Regions from separate parts of the Homo sapiens genome. Here region 2 is linked to region 1. The links are contacts of gene promoters, found by promoter capture Hi-C in human tissues and cell types (Jung and others, 2019). All regions are on one chromosome and are shown on one strand. Each heading gives the region's core, a stretch centred on a gene start or on the middle of the fragment in contact. The rest is flanking DNA. Distances are from core to core; before and after follow the strand shown.

What was found. Contacts are between HindIII fragments. The study calls those that stand out against the background at their distance.
Region 2: a fragment that was not itself captured here is called in contact with the fragment with the promoter of RPS9 in region 1 in 1 of the 25 tissues and cell types used here (dorsolateral prefrontal cortex).

The regions. Positions count from the first base shown.
Region 1 is chr19:54,197,110-54,203,443 of GRCh38, forward strand. RPS9 (ribosomal protein S9) reads left to right here and starts at 3,749. Exons shown (of 5, transcript NM_001013.4): 1 at 3,749-3,779; 2 at 4,051-4,172; 3 at 4,378-4,500. The coding sequence starts at 4,076. RefSeq lists an enhancer at 3,137-3,806 and a silencer at 3,569-4,062. The HindIII fragment of the contact is 8,370 bases long and covers 1-6,334 here.
Region 2 is chr19:55,314,024-55,319,920 of GRCh38, forward strand. TMEM150B (transmembrane protein 150B) reads right to left here. Exons shown (of 8, transcript NM_001282011.2): 7 at 2,763-2,943. Among named protein-coding and RNA genes, the nearest start is that of TMEM150B, 8.4 kb to the right of the region's middle. The HindIII fragment of the contact is 7,983 bases long and covers 248-5,897 here.

The DNA of each region.
Region 1 (6,334 bases), core at 2,499-4,998:
TGGATATGCCCAGGCTTGTCTCATTTTTGCCAACAGCTACATGGTTTTGCGTCCTATGGATGGGGCATAATTAGATTTTATTACACTTGTACAAAAGGAAAGGAATTCAGCTCCCCAAGCATGCCCAGCTGGTCCTTGGCAACCCATGATGGAAACCAAGGGTTCCTCTTATATTACCCGTGCTCCTTTCAGAGAGGAAGGGCTAGAGGGCTCCAGCCTGAGTGAGAGAGAGAGAGGAGGAAGCATGAGGGGTTTGTGGAAGAGGGCCTGGTGCCATATGACTGGACCATGCTTCTGAAGAGGATCAGGGTGAGGCCAGATCTCATCAGTTGACCCTTGAGCAACATGGGTCTGAACTGCTCGGGTCCACTTTTATGCAGATTGAAAAAAGTAAAGGTTACACAGAGCATGCCTGCCTCTCCTGCTTTGCCTTTTACCTCCTCCACCTCTGGCACCCTGAGACAGCAAGACCAAACCCTCCTCTTCTTTCTGCACCTCTGCCTACTCAGAATGAAGACAAGGATGAAGACCTTTATGATGATCCACTTCCACTTAATGAATAGTAAATATATTTTCTCTTTTTTAGAATTTTCTTAATATTTTCTTTTTTTTTTTTTTTGAGACGAAGTCTCGCTCTGTCACCCAAGCTGGAGTGCAGTGGCGCGATCTTAGCTCACTGCAAGCTCCGCCTCCCGGGTTCACGCCATTCTCCTGCCTCAGCCTCCCCGGTAGCTGGGACTACAGGTGCCTGCCACCACGCCCGGCTAATTTTTTGTATTTTTAGTAGAGATGGGGTTTCACCGTGTTAGCCAGGATGGTCTCGATCTCCTGACCTGGTGATCCGCCCGCCTTAGCCTCCCAAAGTGCTGGGGTAACAGGCATGAGCCATCACGCCCGGCCAATATTTTCTTTTCTCTAGCTTAATTCATCATAGGAATACAGAATATAATACATATAGCATATAAAATATGTGTTAATTGACTATGTTATTGGTAAGGCTTCCAGTCAACTACGAGTAATGTTTTTTTTAAATCCTGAGACAGTGTCTTGCTCTGCCAGCTGGGCTGGGGTGCAGGGGCATGATCTTAGTTCGCTGCTGCCTCAACCTCCTTGACTCAAGCAGTCCTCCCACCACAGCCTCCCAAGTAGCTGGAACTACGGGCACACACCACCACACCCAGTTAATTTTTCTGTTTTCTGTAGAGTCTGGGTTTTGCCGTGTTGCCCAGGCTGGTCTTGAACTCCTGGGCTCAAGTGCTCTGCCCACCTCAGCTTCCCAAATCCCACCTGGGGTTACAGGTGTGAGCCACGGTGCCTGGCCTAGTAGTTAAGTTTTGGGGAAGTCAAAAGTTATATGCAGATTTTCTTTCTTGATTTTTTTTTTTTTTTTTGAGGCAGTCTTGCTCTGTCGCCCAGGATGGAGTGCAGTGGTGCGATCTCGGCTCACTGCAATCTCCACGTCCTGGGTTCAAGTGATGCTCTTGCCTCAACCTCCTAAGTAGCTGGGATTACAGGCACCTGCCACCACGCCTGCCTAATTTTTGTATTTTTAGTAGAGACCAGGTTTTGTCATGTTGGCCAGGCTGGTCTCGAACTCCTGACCTCAGTTGATCCGCCGGCCTTGGCCTTCCACATAGTGCTGGGATTACAGGCGTGAGGCACCGCGCCCAGCCTATATGGAGGTTTTCGGCTGAGCTGGGGGTCAGTGCCCCTCGCCCCCAGACTGTACAGAGTCAGCTGTGTTAAGATATTAAGCACCTTCAGTACACAAGACTCTGTGCTGGTTTTCTTTTCTTTTTTTTTTTTTTTTACTCTAAATCATCAAACCCTATGAGGAAAGTCCTGTTACTTTCTCCCATTTAGCACTCTTGAAGAGGCTAATTTGCCTAAGATCAAGAGCTCGTCAGTGACTGCTGAGGTTCAAACGCAGATCTTTTTTAAGACTTGAGAACCTACAGGTTCAACCACCATTATAAAACCATCTCTGTAATCACGAGGCACCCGGAATTTGTGGAGCTTGGACTTCATCCTGAAGGGAGTGAAAACTTATGGAAGTTTTTTCCTTCCACGTTTCCCCCTTCCAGATGAATAATATACGCGTGTTCAAGATACAAAAATGCATAAAATTTGGCCAGGCATGGTGGCTTACACCTGTAATCCCAGCACTTGGGGAGGCTGAGGCGAGTGGATCACTTGAGCCCAGGAGTTCAAGACCAGCCTGGGCAATATGGCAAAACCCCGTCTCAAAACAACAAAACAAACAAACAAAAAACCCATAAAACTGAACAAGGTAGTTTGTAAGATATGGAAGTACAATGCAGATGACAATAATGACGATGGTAGCTACCACTAGGCGCTTTATTTATGCCACTCTCCTCAACACTGGATAGACTCTCACTTAATCCTCACAAGCTTATGAGGTAGGCGCTACCATCATTCGCCGTTTTACAGAGGAGGACGCTGAGGCACAGAGTGATTGAGAAACTTGTCGAAGGCACTGCAGCTGGCAAGTGGTGACGTGGCATTTGAATCCAGGCATCCGGATGGTGTGGATGCCGTGGAAGAGAAAGGGGCGGGTGGGACTGCTTCCTGAGGAGATAGTGACTGCCGAGGCAGCAGCGTAGGGAAGACAACTGAAGAACACGAGCTGTGGAGACAGACCATCGCATTCGGAGTGGAGAGATGGGTGTACAGACAGACAATAACCAGACTATATATAAAAAGAGAACTCTAGGTCAGGCGCGGTGGCTCACACCTGTAATCTTAGCACTTTGGGAGGCTGAGGCGGGTGGATCACTTGAGGTCAGGCGTTGGAGACCAGGAGTTCAAAACCCCGTCTCTACTAAAAATTTAAAAATTAGCCGGGCATGGTGGTGGGCGCCTGTAGTCCCAGCTTCTCGGGAGGCTGAGGCACGAGAATCGATTGAACCCGGGAAGCGGAGGTTGCAGTGAGCCGAGATCGCACCACTGCACTCCAGCCTGGGTGACGAGAGCGAAAAACTCCGTCTCAAAAATAAAATAAATTACTGATAATAGTACTAATACCCCTTAAGTGGCTATTGATAATAATAGTACCATGGGTGGGGGGGCAACTTCTCTGAGAGTGCTCTGTAAGTATGTATTGAAGATTGAGTAAATACATTTAAAATTCTTAGAACAGTATGTGGCACATAGCGTTCCAGAATGCCACATTATTGTTAGTGACAGAAATAATCTCGGCTGGGCGCGGTGGCTCACGCCTGTAATCCCAGCACTTTGGGGGGGCCACGGCGGGAGGCTCTCTCGAGGCCGGGAGTTCAAGACCAGCCTGGGCAACATGGCAAGACGCCGACTGTTAAAAAAAAAAAATGCTACCCGGGCGTCGTGGCGTGTGCCTGTAATCCCAGCTACTGGGGAGGAGGTGGGAGGATCGCTCGAGCCCGAGAGGTTGGTCGGGGCCTCAGTGAGCCGAAATCACGCCACTGCACTCCAGCCTGGGCGACGGAGCGAGACCCTGTCTCAGAAAGAAAAAGAAAAACCACCGTCCAGGGGCGGAGAAGGAAGGTTCTCCCTACTTCTCAGGTTTCCACTCCCTGGCCGGAAAAAACCTAGTCCTCCCAGGTTAGCACGCCGCTCTAGCCCAGCCTCACGTCTCCACTGCTTCTCAGCCAGCCAACGCCTCTTCTGATTGGCTCTGACGTGCGTGGTGCGTGAAAACGTCACGAGACGCCGGCGTTACTATAAGAGCGCAGCCGTGGCGCTTCCGCGCCTCTTTCTCAGTGACCGGGTGGTTTGCTTAGGTGAGGTGCGGTGGTGTGCTTTTTCTCTAGGGTTTGGGTTGGATGGTGGCCCGGGCCTTCCGAGTTTCCATGAGTAAGCTAAAGACGTTAGGAAACAGAGCAGGGTGGTTGAACGGGAGTGCAGCACGGTTGTGGGGGCAGATACTGACTATGAGAGCGTTGGAGGTTATTCTCGCGAGATCGGATCTGGGCTCCGCGAGGTTTTGGCGTAGTTGTGGGACTGCGCAGGCGCCGTTTGGATCCCTTACGCTCACACTTCTCTCCCGCGCAGGCGCAGACGGGGAAGCGGAGCCAACATGCCAGTGGCCCGGAGCTGGGTTTGTCGCAAAACTTATGTGACCCCGCGGAGACCCTTCGAGAAATCTCGTCTCGACCAAGAGCTGAAGCTGATCGGTGAGTGGCCAAGGCTTCCGGGAAGTGGTTCGGCTTCCGGGAGGCGGTTAGCACGTGGATGAAGGTGCCCATGTACTCTATCTAGTCCGTCCCCTAAATTTGGTACTATTCGTGGTTTAGGAAGGTTTTGTGATTCCAAAGCTGCCAGTCTAGTTGTTGTGCCAGTACGTGGGACTACACTTGTCCACCCCCTTCTCCCCACCAGGCGAGTATGGGCTCCGGAACAAACGTGAGGTCTGGAGGGTCAAATTTACCCTGGCCAAGATCCGCAAGGCCGCCCGGGAACTGCTGACGCTTGATGAGAAGGACCCACGGCGTCTGTTCGAAGGTGCGTATGGGAGTCCACAGCAGAGGGATGGGGTGCAGGGCTTGTGAGGTTCATTCTCCCTTCTGTTGCCTCTGTTCCAGTGATGAGAGTTGTGTCATTGGATAAATGGAACCAGCCTTCTAACTTTTAGTGGCACTTGTGGAGTAGGAAAAGTGTATCTGGATCAGTCTTTGCCCTGTTTCTTAGGTGTGTGGCTTTTTTGCCCAGTTATTGGACCTTCAGTTTAGTAATGACCAGAGCTAAAGATAGGCCTGGCACACCTGGGCACCCGTCTATATCTTTATATTCTGTTTATGTGGCCTGTTTGCTAGTGGATGAGAGTAGACTATGAAGTGGAATTTCTGGGCTAAGTGATGGTGATAACAGGGTTTGCACATTTGCTTGGTTTATTGTTTTTTTAATTAAGTTTTCTCGTTTTATTTAGTCTTTTGAGACGGAGTCTTGCTCTGTTGCCCAGGCTGGAGTGCCGTGGCGCCATTTCGGCTTACTGCAACCCCCGCCTCCTGGGTTCAAACAATTCTCCTATCTTAGCCTCCCAAGTAGCTGGGACTACAGACAGGCGCACGCCACCACACCTGGCTAATTTTACTTTTGAGACGGAGTCTCGCTCCATTGCCCATGCTGGAGTGTAGTTGTCGCAATCTTGGCTCACTGCAAACTCCGCCTCCAGAGTTCAAGCGATTCTCCTGTCTTAGCCTCCTAAGTAGCTGGAATCACAGGCATGGGCCACCAAGCCTGGCTAATTTTCTATTATTAGTGGAGATGGGTTTTCACCATGTTGTCCAGGCTGGTGCTTGTTTTTTTAAGCTGGTCAAGGACATTTAGGTGGTATTTAGCAAAGGCCTGAACAGGAGAGAACCTGTAAAATGTCTCAGGGAACAGCATTTCAGGTGATGACTTTAGGAGGGCATGCAGATCACATAGACTTAGGCTTACTTTACTAATTGTGGTGAAATACACATTAAATTGAAAATGTACCATCTTAACCATCTTGTTTTAAAATCTACTCTGAGATGCGGTGTTATTGGAGTGCTTTCTACAGCAGATTGGCATGACCAAGATTGGCATTTGTATATCCTGAGACGCTGCTTTTGCCTGAGTTTGGGTAGTCATGATTTATGGTGAAAAGCAGTCTCTACACCTGAGCCCTGACTGTTAGGCATGAGAGTGGTCATCCATGTTAGGCGTTGAGAAAGTCCTGGCGCATGTTTAGCTACAGATTATCACAGTTTGTCCCAGGCTTGCAGATGTTAGAAGCTTTTTCTTTAAATAGGCACAGGATCTTGCAGTGTTGACCAGGATGGTTTCCAACTCCTAACCTCAAGTGATCCATCCACCTCAGCTTTCCAAAGTGCTGGGGTTACAGGTGTAAGCCACCGCACCTGACCCTTTCATTCTTTTCGTCAATTTGTAGACCCCGTTGATAATCTCATGAAAGTGCTGGAGATCCCTCCCCCATAGATACTGATGCTGGGTGGGAATTCATCCCAGGGTTCTGTGGGGAGTGGGCTATAGCTGGTTCTGGTTTTAGGGAGGACTTTCTGGACATAGATCCTAATTGCAATGAAACTTACAGTCATGTGAGAAAGCGGTGCAGGTGTCTGAGGGTTATTTGTGGTTTTCCAAGGCAGAAGTGAAAATTCCCAAGGGGTACACAGTTGTTCAGGTGAGTACACTTTCTAGTAAATGAAGCCATCTAGCCTAGTCAGGGACAGGAAGGAGGAGCTTGGATGTTTGCTCTTTGGTGTAATCCTGCCTTGATTCAGATCCTGCCTTTCCCACTAAGATGTGTGACTAGCGAGATTCTGAGTCTCGTCTGTTAAGACTGAACAGC
Region 2 (5,897 bases), core at 2,989-5,488, 1.1 Mb after region 1:
ACCTGGTCTTTTTTTTGAAACAGAGTCTCACTCTGTGTCCCAGGCTGGAATGCAGTGGCGTGATCTCGGCTCACTGCAACCTCTGCCTCCCAGGTTCAAGCGATTCTTGTGCCTCAGCCTCCTGAGCAGCTGGGACTACAGGCGTGTGCCACCACACCTGGCTAATTTTTGTATTTTTAGTAGAGATAGAGTTTCACCGTGTTGGCCAGACAGGTCTTGAACTCCTGATCTCATGTCATCCGCCCGCCTTAGTCTCCCAAAGCGCTGGGATTATGGGCATGAGCCACAATGCCTGACCGTAAACTTCCTATGGCTCTCTATCACCCCCAGGCAGAAACCCAAGCCTCTGATCCCTAATTTTAGAGAATCCTCAGCCCTGGCCCTGCCAGCAGCCTCACTCCTCCCTGGGCTGGTCTTTCTGCTCGGTGCGTGTACCTGCAGTGTGCCCTCAACCTCCCAGCCCACGAGCAGCTCCTTCTGCAAGGCCAGGCTCAGAATCCGGCCAGGCTCAGGCCCGTCTTTACAGACGTCCATCCCTTACGACACTCAGCTAGCTGTCTTTATGGTTCCCTCCCCCACCTACCCCACCCAAGAGACTACTGAGTCCCACAGAATGAAGGCCCCTGTGGCTAAACTGATCATCAGGGCTAGTTTAGAAGATCTGGGCTGGATCTTATCACCATCAGGGCCCCTGCAAAGGAGACCTAATGGTCTCATACCCCAAGTCACTATAGGCCGGGCTGAGGGGCCAGCCCTCTCAACTATTTTGTGAAGATACACTTTGTCACTCCAGGAAATACGATCACCATTTCCATTTTGCTGAGAAAATTTCCAAGAAACGGATGCACTTAATACAACCAACACAGGGCCTTAGCTGGTTTCTCTGTACTCTCTTCTGAATGCCTGCACACTCTGGGCCTCCCCACAAATGAGAAAGACCCCCCAAGGCTGGGTTTTCAGCCCCTCCTTTCTCTCACTCTACACTCTACCTATCAGAATTAATCACTGTAGGCTGGGCACAGTGGCCCACACCTGTAATCCCAGCACTTTGGGAGGCCGAGGCGGGCAGATCACCTGAGGTCAGGAGTTCGAGACCAGCCTGCCCAGCATGGTGAAACCCCATCTCTACTAAAAACACAAAAATTAGCCAGGTGTGGTGGTGCATGCCTGTAGTCCCAGCTACTTGGGAGGCTGAGGCACAAGAATTGCTTGAAACTGGGAGGTGGGGGTTGCAGTGAGCCAAGATCATGCCACTGCACTCCACCCTGGGTGACAGAGTGAGACTCCATCTCAAAAAATAATAATAACAAGATAATAATAATAATAGGCCGGGCATGGTGGCTCATGCCTGCAATCCCAGAACTTTGGGAGGCCAAGGCAGGTGGATCATGAGGTCAGGAGTTCGAGACCAGCCTGGCCAATATGATGAAACCCCGTCTCTACTAAAAATACAAAAGGCCAGGCACGGTGGCTCACACCTGTAATCCCAGCACTTTGGGAGGCCAAAGTGGGCGCATCACAAGGTCAAGAGATCAAGACCATCCTGGCTAACATGGTGAAACCCTGTCCCTACTAAAAATACAAAAAATTAGTTGGGCATGGTGGCTGGCGCCTGTAGTCCCAGCTACTCAGGAGGCTGAGGCAGGAGAATGGCATGAACCTGGGAGGCGGAGCTTACAGTGAGCCAAGATCACGCCACTTCACTCCAGCCTAGGTGACAGAGCGAGACTCCGTCTCAAAAAAAAAAAAAAAAAAATTAGCCAGGTGTGGTTGGCAGGTGCCTGTAGTCCCAGCTACGTGGAAGGCTGAGGCAGGAGAATCGCTTGAACCCGGGAGGCGGAGGTTGCAGTGAGCTGAGATCACGCCACTGCACTCCAGCCTGGGCGACAGAGCAAGACTCTGTCTCAAAAATAAATAAATAAAAATAATCATGATGATAAAAGCAAATCCATTTTATGGATATGGAAACTGAGGCCTCAGAGAGTGACCTGACCCATCTAGAAGTACACTGTGCTGGTGGAAAGTGCCTCGGTTCTGGGGATGGCTCAGAAATGAGTTGGAATTGAGTCAAGCCTCATGTGGTGTGCTAGTAAATGTTTAACAACTGGCTCTGGTTGGTGGCATCTGCCAATTACAGTGGTATAAATACTCCCATGATGGCTATTTCAAGCTACTCACATGATATCACAGGACATGGAGTTCGGACGAGCAGTTCACAGAATGCCTCTCAGAGCCTGCGCAAGCCACCTGCAGCCTATCACCAGCTCCATTGCAGAACCTCACGCGCATCCTGGCCGAAAGACTTTTCCTGTCTGAACCCGTCTTCACTCGTAACCACATGATTCCTGGCACAGAGCAGGTGCCCTCAAGGGACTGTTCTTAGTATATCATTCTTCCAGCGTCTATTGGTCACTCGCTATGTGCCAGGCACAGATCTAAGCACCGTATGCCTATTATCCTATCCACTCCACAACCCTGAGGTCAGCCCTGTCGTTATCCACATTTGAGGGATGACGAAACCATTGACACCGAGAAGTAACAGCCCGCGGAAGTTTCCCCCAGCTGCTGTGTGGAGGACAGGGGCTTCCAACCTGGGCAACCTGACCCCGAAGTCGGCATTCTCGATGACAAAGCCATAATCCTGTGCAAAGAGTGAGGCCCAGAGAAAGGAAGAGACATCCCCAGTGACAGACAGCCAGGCAGGAAGACCAACTCCAGTGAAGAGCCACCTCCAAGCCCTACCCCGGATACAAGAAGGATACTGGCCACAATGAGGATGGTGCAGACGCTGCAGAGGCCCAGGCGGAGGGGCCCAATCCAGGCAGCCCCGGGCTGGGGCAGCCTCTTCAGCCTCCACAGGAGGAGCTGCAGCCAGAAGTAGACGTTACCCAAGATGAAGGCAAGGAAGGCCCCTGCCAAGTGCGTAGGCCGCTGGTTCTTTTCCTGGGAGGAGAAGGGAGAAGTTGGGAGGGAGACTCTGGGAAGGAGGGTAAGGGGCACCAGAGGGGCCAGGGCCCTTCACCAATGCAGTAGACAGTGGTCACCAACTTTCCATACCCAGTGATGGGCTTATTAAGCACATCAGCTATTGTCAGCTCCACGAGAGCAGGCATTGAAATCTGTTGTTCACTGCTGTGGCCTCAATTCCTAGAACAGTGATGGGCACATAGTAGATGCTCAGTAAATATGAGTGGGATAAATCTTGCATTCTCAAGGCGGGGGACAGACATTTCCCCAAAAATTGGTCTTGCAGGTGAAAAATTCTTAAATATTACAATTGTATGTGACTCACGGATACATAGCACATATTCCATTAAAATTTTAAAATACTTAAAATTTTGGCCTGGTGCGGTGGCTCACATCTGTAATCCCAGCTCTTTGGAAGGTGAAGCAGGCAGATCACTTTGAGCTCAGGAGTTCAAGACCCACCTGAGCAACATGGCAAAACCTCGTCTCTACAAAAAATACAAATATTGCCAGGCATAGTGGCTCACACCTGTAATCTCAGCACTTTGGGAGGCCAAGGCGGGTAGATCACTTGAGGTCAGGAGTTCGAGACCAGCCTGGCCAACATGGTGAAACCCTGTCTCTACTAAAAATACAAAAAATTAGCTAGGCGTGGTGGCGGGCACCTGTAATCCCAGCTACTTGGGAGGCTGAGGCAGGAGAATCACTTGAACCCAGGAGGCAGAGGTTGCAGTGAGCCAAGATCGCACCATTGCACTCCAGCCTGGGCAACAAGAGTGAGACTCCATCTCAAGAAAAAAAAAAATACAAATATTAGCCGGTCATGGTGGCTCAGGCCTGTAATCCCAGCTACTCAGGAGGCTGAGGCTGGAGGATTACTTAAGCCCAGGAAGCAGAGGTTGTAGTGAGCTGAGATGGCACCATCGCACACCAGCCTGGGCAACGGAGCAAGATCCCATCTCAAAAATAAATAAACAAATAATAAATAAATAAAATAAATACTTAAAATTTCATGGGAAGAGGGGAGAACCAGGGGGAAATGTCTAAAAATACTCCTTAGAGGAGCAAGATAATAATAATAGGTTGAGGGCTGGGCACAGTGGCTCATGCCTGTAATCCCAACACTTAGGGAGGCCAAGGTAGGCAGATCACTTGAGGTCAGGAGTTTGAGACCAGCGTGGCCAACATGGTGAAACCTTATCTCTACTAAAAATGCAAAAAGTAGCCGGGCGTGGTGGTGAGCGCCTGTAATCCCAGCTACTCTGGAAGCTGAAGTTAGGAGAATCACTTGAGCCCGGGAGATGGAGGTTGCAGTAAGCCAAGATCTCACCACTGCACTCCAGCCTGGGCCACAGAGCAAGACTCTGTCTCAAATAAATAAATAGTTGTGGAGCACTTTGGGAGGCTGAGGTGGGTGGCTCATTTGAGGTCAGGAGTTCAAGACCAGCCTGGCCAATATGGTGAAATCCCATCTCTACTAAAAATACAAAAAAAATTTAGCCAGGCCTGGTGGCAGGTGCCTGTAGTCTCAGCTATTTGGTAGGTTGAGGCAGGAGAATCGCTTGAACCCAGCAGGCGGAGGTTGCGGTGAGCCAAGATCGCACTACTGCACTCCAGCCTGGGTGACAGAGCAAGACTCCATCTCCAATATATGTATATATATAAATATATTCTCTGTGGTCCATGGGCAATGAGTGACCTAGCTAGAGTCTTCATGGAGATGGAATGAAGTCATGTACAAAATGGAAAGCCTGCTGCCAATGGCTGCCAAATGCTCAATCAATGTGCCTAACATGAAGAATGAGTAAATCTCAGTCATTTCTTTTTGGAGACAAGGTCTCACTCTGTTCACCAGGCTGGAGTGCAGTGGCACAATCACAGCTCACTGCAGCCTCGACCTCCTGGGCTCAAGCAATCCTCCATCTTCCCACCTCAGCCTCCTGCATAGCTGGGACTACAGGTTCACGCCACCATGCCTGGCTAATTCTTTATTTTTTGTAGAGACAGAGTCTTGCTATGTTGTCCAGGCTGGTCTTGAACTCCTGGGCTCAAGCCTCAGCCTCCAAAGTCCTGGGATTACAGGCATGAACCACTGTGCCCAGCCTCACTAATTTCTTTTTTCTTTTCTTTTCTTTTTTGAGACTGAGTCTCACTCTTGCAGCCCAGGCTGGAGTGCAATGGCATGGTCTCGGCTCAATGCAACCTCTGCCTCCCGGGTTCAAGCAATTCTCCTGCCTCAGTCTCCTGAGTAGCTGGGCTTACAGGCACCTGCCACCACCCCTAGCTAATTTTTTGTATTTTTAGTAGAGATGGGGTTTTACCGTGTTGGCCAGGCTGGTCTCCAACTCCTGACCTCAGGTGATCCACCTACCTTGGCTTCCCAAAGTGCTGGGATTACAGCCGTGAGCCACAGAGCCCGGCCAGTAATTTCATCTTCTTCTTCTTTTTTTTTTTTTTTTTTTTTTTTTTTTTTGAGAGAAGTCTCACTCTTATCCCCCAGGTTTGAGTGCAATGGCTCGATCTCGGCTCACTGCAACCTCCACCTCCCAGGTTCAAATGATTCTCCTGCCTCTGCCTCCCACGTAGCTGGGATTAAGTCGCCTGCCACCATGCCCGGCTAATTTTTGTATATTTTAGGAGAGACGGGGTTTCACCATGTTGGTTGGCCAGGCTGGTCTCAAACTCCTCACCTCAGGCGATCCGCCTGCCTCCGCCTCCCAAAGTGCTGGAATTACAGGCATGAGCCACTGCGCCTGGACCAGTAATTTCATCATTAAATAAGCTGGGGAGAGGGGCTGGCAGAAAATTATCCCAACGTCCTGGAAGTCAACGAAGTCCTACATACAAACAGCCTCGCTCGTAGTGCCCCACTCAGAGAGCAAAGGAATCCAGCCGGTCCAAGGCCACTGGCCAGAGAAAAATACAAGTCC